Regions from separate parts of the Homo sapiens genome. Here region 2 is linked to region 1. The links are contacts of gene promoters, found by promoter capture Hi-C in blood cells and fetal thymus (Javierre and others, 2016). All regions are on one chromosome and are shown on one strand. Each heading gives the region's core, a stretch centred on a gene start or on the middle of the fragment in contact. The rest is flanking DNA. Distances are from core to core; before and after follow the strand shown.

Region 1 (4,378 bases), core at 1,280-3,779:
GAGGCAGGCAGAGGGAAGAGAAAGGGTCTGTTGTTTTTCTCTCCTGTTTCTCGCTCCCTCTCTGCTGATCACAAAGCTGCTGACCGGGTCAGAAAGTCCTGATGGAAATCCACCAGCGCTGGGCAGGCCCCTCCTCCTCCAGGGAGCTTGTCCTTGCCTAATTTTTCTTCGTCCTGATGAGAACAAAAAAGAGAGAGAGAAGAAAAGAAAAACCACAAACTTCCTTTGAAAACCAGCTTGTAGTCAGGGCCCGGAGCGCATGCCATAGACTCGGCGACTCAGGAATCCTGAAGACTCTCTGAGCGACCTGGAGCACCTTGGCTGTGTCCCTGCCTGCCTTCACCCTCCTCCAGTGCCCCCAGTACTGGGCGTGAGTCCGGAAGTGGCCACAACCCAGCCTGGACCGTCGCTTATAAAGCTGTGTAAACCTGTATAAGCTCAGGCGTTGACAGCTGGAAGGCAGCTGGCACTGGCAGCCCCCTTCATTGCACCTATCTCCCCCATCTCATTGCCACGGCTGAACCCTCCTTCTCAATCTTGGAACAGCACCCCCTTCTTTAAGGTAAAAACTTTATTTTAATCATCTTCTTCACCTCTTCTCCCACCCTTCTCTATTTCCTCTCCAGCTTTGGGGAGCTGACACCTGCTGTCCTTCCACCTTTGGTCTGCAAGTCTGGATTGCTTAGAGGAGCTAAGTCAGGAGAGACATGTAAAGGGGATGCTGCTTGGTCCTCCTCCTTTTAATGAAAGCACGAAACCTTCCCCCTCTCCTTGTGAGCAAGTATACAGGGCACTGTGGCCATGGTTGACATATTCTGAGATGAAAATCTAAACTATTGATTGCACAAAGACATAGGTCAGACTAAGAAGGAGATTGGTGTGAGACAGTAAGGGAACTGTTCCTACAGAGAAGGAGTGTCTTCTTGAAGCTACATACCTGTTTTACGTGCTTCTTCCAACTTTCGGCTCTCTACTGCCATTGATTAGGGAGGAGCCAGGATTATTTTAACTCCCTCACTCACCACCATAATTCCAGCTGGAGAGAAAGTGTAGGATTTGACGAGCTAAGAAAGAGGAGGAAAAGAATGAAACTTTGATTTATCTGACTATCCTCTCCCTCATTCTTTCCTACTCTGAAATACTCCATGCCCTCCCCAGCAGGATTGGACGTTGTAGAGTAGAAAGCCTCCATTACATTTCCTGCCCCTGCCTCTTAAGACTTAGCCCATTTAGCTCTGCCCAGTTCCTCTGAGACCCCACTCCCTCAGGTGTCCACTCCTGGGTTCCTTTGGCTCACCTCTCCAGCCAGCTAGCTGCCCAACCCCCACTTCATCATTGATCATTTCTGGCACTGGAGAGAAAATATAAAAAATAAGGCCTGCTTTTCTTTTTTTTTTTTCTTTTTTTCTTTTTTTTTTTGGAGGCAAGAGTCTCACTCTTGTCACCCAGGCTGGAGTGCAGAGGCACAATCTTGGCTTACTGCAACCTCCACCTCCGGGGTTCAAGCAATTCTCCTGCCTCAGCCTCCTGAGTAGCTGGGATTACAGGTGCCCGCCACCGTGCCCGGCTAATTTTTGTATTTTTAGTAGAGATGGGGTTTCGCCATGTTAGCCAGGCCGATCTTGAGCTCCTGACCTCAGGTGATCCGCCCGCCTCGGCCTCTCAAAGTGCTGGGATACAGGTGTGAGGCACTGTGCCCGGCCAAGGCCTGCTTTTCTTCAAGCTTTTTCACTTTTCCAGGCTCTGGCATCTGCTTTGAGGTTCACCCTAAGTGTCATTTAAGGGGAGAAGGAAAGGAGAGAGAGAAAGAGAGAGAAAAAAAAGCATAAGGCCTGCAGGCAATTTTTGCTACTCTGATTCTAAATTAACAACACGTAAATGATATGCAGCTAGCATAAACATATGTGAATCAAGAGGATAATCAATTTGAGTGACTAGGCTTATTTTGTTTCAGTAACTTTAATGTTCCTCAACCTCATCTCCCAGGCCTTCCCCTAGCCCCAAATTCCTGTAGGTTTACAAGAAGGAAGCAGTCTCAGGCTGGGAGGAGGGTGGAGAAAAGACAAGATTTCTAACTAGTTTAATTTATTTTATTTTATTTTATTTTATTTTATTTTATTTTATTTTATTTTATTTTATTTTTGAGATGGAGTTTCGCTCTGTCACCCAGGCTGTAGTGCAGTGTCACCATCTCAGCTCACTGCAACCCCCTGCCTCCCAGGTTCAAGCAATTCTCCCACCTCAGCCTCCCGAGCAGCTGTGACTACAGGCACGTGCCAACACACCTGGCTAATTTTTGTACTTTCAATACAGACAGCGTTTTGCCATGTTAGCCAGGATGGTCTCGATCTCCTGACCTCAAGTAATCTGCCCGCCTCAGCCTCTCAAAGTGCTGGGATTACAGGCGTGAGCCACCGCGCCTGGCCCCTAACTAGTTTAATTTCTCCCTGTTTCTCTCCCTGATAAAGAGTGGGAGGGGAGCAAGGAGATTGAAGGGAGATGTTTTCCAAAGGGCAGGATTTGTGGTTTTTTATTATTTATACCCACAGTATTAGTTAAATGTCTATCTGTGCTTGCCTCAATGTGCCTCCAGTGCTGATAGAGAACAGGTTAAACAGGTCCGGTGTTCACATCTAAAATGACCTGGAGAGGACTGGGCACGGTGGCTCATGCCTGTAATCCCAGCACTTTGGGAGGCCAAGGTGGGAGGATCACCTGAGGTCGGAAGTTCAAGACCAGCCTGACCAACATGGAGAAACTCCATCTCTACTAAAAAATACAAAATTAGCTGGGCATGGTGTTGCATGCCTGTAATCCCAGCTACTCGGGAGGCTGAGGCAGGAGAATCACTTGAACCCAGGAGGCAGAGGTTGCAGTGAGCCGAGGTCGCACCATTGCACTCCAACCTAGGCAACAAGAGCAAAACTCTGTCTCAAAAAAATAAAAATAAATAAATAAAACCACTTGGATGGGAATAGACATAAAACTTTAGGTAGGTGAATGTACAGGAAGTATTGTTATGTAAATTAATAATCAGCATTTTCATATTTCATAGAAATAGCAGGCAAGAGAGTACCTCTGGGTTTAGGTAGTTTCTGGGGAAAAAAAATGAACTGAGGAAAAGTTGCTGTCTCAATGCTAGCTGTCAAGAGATGCTTACTGGGTCCAGGCACCGTGGCTCATGCCTGTAATCCCAGTCCTTTGGCAGGCTGAGGAGGGCGGATTGCTTGGGCCCCCAGGAGTTAAGACCAGCCTAGGCAACAAAGCAAGACCCTGTCTCAGTTTAATTAAAAGAAATTTGATATCTTTATTAATTTTTTTTAAAGAGAAGCTTACTGGAAGAACTTGTGGGGAGTGCTTTTTGTGCCCCTAATCTGAAGTTATTTATCAAAACCAGTCTCTGATTCCAGCCCCCACCACCTACATTTCCCCTCCCAGCTTACAGGAAACCCCTCCCAAGGCCTTTATACTGTGGTTTGGGATTGTGTAAGGTTCAGTAGAGCCCTTTGAGGTGGAAGACTTCCCCTTCCTCACCAGCATTTCACCTTTAGGGGCATGAAACTGACTCTCTGTGCCTCCTCCATTCTTCACCCCAAGTACTATGTGACTTAATCTTTTTATCCTTGGGTGAGGCAGAGAGAAGGTATCCCTAAACATACAAGCACTGTGTATTCTTAGTATGTTGTGTGAAGGGGCAGGGTGTGGGGTAGGGCAGAGGAATTATCTCTGTCATGGCTATGAGGGGGTTACTGATGTGATGCCTATTAGAGTAAGCTAAAGATCATCATATTAATAACCATTAGCGTAGATTTAACATTTCTTTCTCCACCTCTTATCCTTCTTTCTCCTTTGTGCTCTCCCTTTCTCTCTGTCTTTCCTCCCTTCCCTGTCATGATCTGTTTCAGGGAAGCTGACTCCACCCATGTGTTCAATCCCACCAGTCTTCCCTCCCAAGTCTGGAAGCCCCACGACCTCTTGGTCTCATCTGGTCACAGCAAGTTAGAGGTGGAAAGAGCTCAGCACGGGGCCCTTCTGTTTACACATATACTGCCCATAGCCAGGAGTTACTGCACAAACACTAGCCAGCCTTCTACACTACATTCCTTTTCCAAGACTTTTCTGGGTTAGTTTGCTTTCCAGCCCACTGATTTCCTTCTTATTGGACAGGTCACTCTTTTGCATCCCAAGCCTGGCTTAGGCAAGTCCCTGAGGTTAGTAAACACCTTCAGTGCCCCTCAGCCAAGTCCCTTTTGACCATGGAATACCATCAGCCTGAGGATCCAGCCCCTGGTAAGGCCGGGACTGCAGAAGCAGTCATCCCTGAAAACCATGAGGTTCTGGCAGGCCCAGATGAGCACCCTCAGGACACAGATGCAAG
Region 2 (4,095 bases), core at 137-2,636, 940 kb after region 1:
AAGCCACCACAGGTTCCTGAGCATAAATGTGAATAAAGTGGCAAAGATTCAAGACACTCATAGCTGTATATAAAATTAAGTGTTGATGGTGTTCAATGTGACAGATACGGAGGTTAATCCAGGAATAAAGTAATGTGGGTCTCCGTTAAGAGTAGTTCATTAGTGGCAATGGGAATGGCTGTGAACCTAAAAAACATCTTGAAGGAAGAACTGGCTGTAAGGGGTCAACTGAAATATGGAAACAAAACAAGAAAAATGAAGGTTATAACACTGATGAACCAGGATAATTATGATGCCACAAATTATGATAATACAAATTTATTTTGCCTTCTTAATGCTTTCAGATCAGAGTGTTCTGCATCTGCCTGGGCAGATGGAAGCTCAGTTTATGCAGTACCTTTGTAGGTCGAAGAAAACAAATTGCCTTCAGGTGTTTCATGATCTCTCGATTTTGAGAATCAATGCGTTCAAAGAGGTACACTTCCTTCTGTAGAATCTCCGATTGTGTGTATACCATACTCACTATGCCAGTCTGTAAAAACAAAAGATTAACTAAAAGTATGCTAGTCTAGAATAATAAAAACAAGTAGCACATCTAACCCTCTTTTTTCATTAATACTTAGCTGGATAACTTAAATAGTAATATACGGAAAACATTTACTGAACATCCAAACAGGTAGGTAACATACGAGAATGAAAAATACGCTCTATCCTTTCAGCTGAAGCTTCAAGATTAAAAACAAAAAACATGGTCTCTTTGAACAGGAACAATCCATAAGTTTCCAAAAATATTTTTTTCTATCACCTTAAAGAGTTTTGTTTTCTGGTCTGTGGCCAACAAATAATCTGTCATTTCAGCTTGAGCTCCAACAGCTTTACTTTAAAAACACAATGTTGAGTGGAAACAGTAGGCCCATCCCAAAGCCTTCCAAGTGCTCTGACATATTAATGATTTCTTGGCGGGGACATTTAGAAAAGGATTTCTGATTCCAATAAATTGTTCCGGGTAGAAGTAGTCTCTAGGCAGTGGCTGGAGCCATGTAGACTGAAAACCCACCGGGCAAGCTTTATATAAACAACTTTTCAATTCCACACAAACCGACCCTCATTTTCGTATGTTTAATTAAATGCTAAGTCCTACAGTGGAATGGGACGAGCAATTGTAAGGTTGAGAGGGTTCCTTCACAAATGCTGAGCAAAAGCAAACTCACCGTCTCTTTATCCATGAGAAGTACTTTCATACCAGGCCCGCTGTCCTCTATCATTTTGGAAATGTACTGCTTCACAGCAAAAACCACGTTCATGGCGGCGAATTGACAAGTACCCTACAGCCCTTCCCGCCCCCTTTTCTGGCTAAATTAACCCCCAGTCTGTTGGCCGGGTCTCAGCTGCTTCCTCCCAGCCGGGATTCGGCTTCCGGGAGTCCGGGCAGCCACGGTGCTGGGAGTTGTAGTTCCGCTGGAGTGTACAGGGGACCAAGCCTACCCCGGGGATGGAAAAATCCGGCTGAGACGGCCTGGGCCGCTGCCACGCGCGGGCGTTATTCTCCACCCACCTGCGGCCTGAAGATGCCTGAGGCCCGGACTCTCAGACCCCTATTGCCCTTTGGTGCTGGAGGCCCAGCGGCAGCCTGAAGCCCAAGAGAGTGGAGCCTCGCGAAATGAGGAACCTGGCACAAGGTTTGCTTGGAAGCAGGAACGACGGAGTGTGGCTACGTGCCCTATTTGCCATTAACGCTTTCTTGCATGGCAGTGAGAGATGAGGGCAAGGGAGGTGGCATAATGCTCCCGGCCGCTTGGGACTCGGAGAGACGGCATTTAATAAATCACACGCGGTATTTGCGAAACAGTGGTCGAGATTCGTCTTCCCGGGTTCATTGCGTCATTAATAGGCGGGAACAGTGCCCCTGTGTTGAGGCTGCAGAGGCCCTAATTGGTTTTCCCAAGACAGAGGGGCATATGAGATTGAACAAATATTTGTTGAATGAATGAACAAAGGGAACGCCTTTTAGGGATGTTTCTGGGGGAAAGGCCTGAGGTTCTCCAGGAGGGTCTGCAGCTAGGGTCGGCCGTGGGGGCTCGCAGCCCGCGGGACCACCGGACCTGCAAGCGTCCCCCTGCCCCGCCCCCGCCTCGGCGCTCTGAGCAATTGGACTCTGCCAGCTCTAACTCCGGCGGGACTCTGAAACTCAGGCAAGAGCCGAGGTGACTGGGTCCTTTGAAATGGGTAGGGGACACGTATCCGGTAGAACTAAAACTAGCGTGGGGATTTGAAGCCAAAACTCTCAAGTTTTTACTGAATCTTAAAACCATCAACTTCCAAATGTCTGCATTTGTCTTTACACCACACAGGTCTCCCCTCTATCATGGCATTTGTCGAAAAGGAGGGTAGATGTTTGTTTTTCGCACCTTTACTTTGGGGAATTGTAAAATCAGGAAGATAATAAGAAACAATTGTTAGAAATCAGTAACTAAAAATGCTTATGAATATTTCCACCAAAATAATGACCAGTGTTTGTGAGGTCAATAGATTCAGGATTACCAAATAAATTCTTTCATTATATTTTAAGAAGTACACAGTTAAAATAGACCAATAGCACTTTAACATTAATCAGCTTAAGATTATGCAATATTATATATAATTCTCAAATCCCTTAAGGGAGATCAGAAACTACTGAAATATAAGAGATTTTTGTCACCTCTGAAATTGTGAAGAATATGTTTTTTTTCTTTCAGCTTTTCTACCAAGTAAATAAAGCTTCCCTTTAGGCATTTTACTAATTTTTAGATGTGTTTTGAAAGAAAAGTCTTAAGTTATATATTAAAGTGAAAATGTGAATCTTTAAATGGATACAAGAAATGTTATATGAACATTCCATTCTTATCAATTTAAATGTTCGTATCTTACAGAAAACATGGAAACAACGCTAATGAAAATCCTGTAAATCCTGTAAATTACTGATATTTGAAAATTCACTGCCAATCTCCTATGTCACTTGGTTTTTATTTTTCTTACCTATAATTTAGATTGCAGTATAGAAGATTTTTCCCCATTTTCTGTGCTTTTTTAAGAAAGAAGGAGATAAAGACTTGTCTATGAAATTCGTGCCTTTTTAAACAATAGTCAGTCTGTAAGCAATAGATGGAAAGAATCTTTATCCTTTTGATGATTTATACTTGGGCACATAACTTTTTGAGGGACGAGGAAAATACCTACTTGACACTTACTAACTCATTCCATTTCACATAAAATTTCATTGATGTCAGTGGCAGTGATATTTTATACATTGAGCGATAAGATATGGAACATAAACATTTTGAACAAAATAATTATTACATATTTAAAGGGTGCTGTGATGGTCCTGAAGTTAGACAGCATCCTTCCTTCCTGAAGAAAACCACACAAGCCATTTTAAATGTCTCCAAATTAAGAACTTCTTTTGTATCCCCATACCTCTAAAAATAGAACTGAAACCAATGATAAAATCCAAGCTCTTGCTTTGTGACTCATCCAGGATAAACCCAGTTACTTGTTTTGTTGCAGGCAAGTGACAGCAAATCCAGAATATGAAGTGCCTACTTATTTTTAATTTAGGGTATAAGTAAACTATAATAACAAGAAATATTTTCAATAGTAAAGACATTAAATTTAAAAAATAAATCATGACATCCTTCAAATATGAATGACTACATTAACTTAAAATCTTCAACTTGAAAAATTTGTTTTCACTGGGTCCAAGAAATCAGTGCTTTAAGGATAGAAAACAGGAAGTCAAAAAATGCAGTATTGGTCAGGCACGTGGCTTACTCCTGTAATCCCAACACTTTGGAAGGCCAAGGCGAGGCCAATCGTTTGAGTCCAGAAGTTCAAGACCAGCTTAGACAATATGATGAAACTCTGTCTGTACAAAAAAATACAAAAAATTAGTTGGGCATGGTGGCCAGCGCCTCCAGTCCCAGCTACTTGGGAGGCTGAGATGGGAGGATCACCTGAGCCCAGGAGGTTGAGGTTACAGTGTGCCACTGCACTGCAGCCTGGGTGACAGAGTGAGACCTGTCTCCAAAAAAAAAAGCACTATTTACATTTGTACATTTT

Evidence for each region. The method cuts DNA at HindIII sites, captures the fragments that hold promoters and counts their contacts. A CHiCAGO score of 5 or more calls a contact.
Region 2: the fragment with the promoter of VPS45 here is called in contact with a fragment that was not itself captured in region 1 in 1 of 17 cell types (fetal thymus); the score reaches 7.0 in fetal thymus.

Annotation. Positions count from the first base shown.
Region 1 is chr1:151,002,496-151,006,873 of GRCh38, reverse strand. MINDY1 (MINDY lysine 48 deubiquitinase 1) reads left to right here. Exons shown (of 10, transcript NM_001376665.1): 1 at 1-562; 2 at 4,168-4,378. The coding sequence starts at 4,257. Among named protein-coding and RNA genes, the nearest start is that of MINDY1, 2.2 kb to the left of the region's middle. RefSeq lists enhancers at 67-246, 477-736. The HindIII fragment of the contact is 1,608 bases long and covers 1,726-3,333 here.
Region 2 is chr1:150,065,067-150,069,161 of GRCh38, reverse strand. It overlaps VPS45 (vacuolar protein sorting 45 homolog), which reads right to left and starts at 1,386. Exons shown (of 15, transcript NM_007259.5): 1 at 1,212-1,386; 2 at 398-532. The coding sequence starts at 1,304. It also overlaps a transcript of OTUD7B not described here. RefSeq lists an enhancer at 1,430-1,759 and a silencer at 1,970-2,209. The HindIII fragment of the contact is 1,692 bases long and covers 1,068-2,759 here.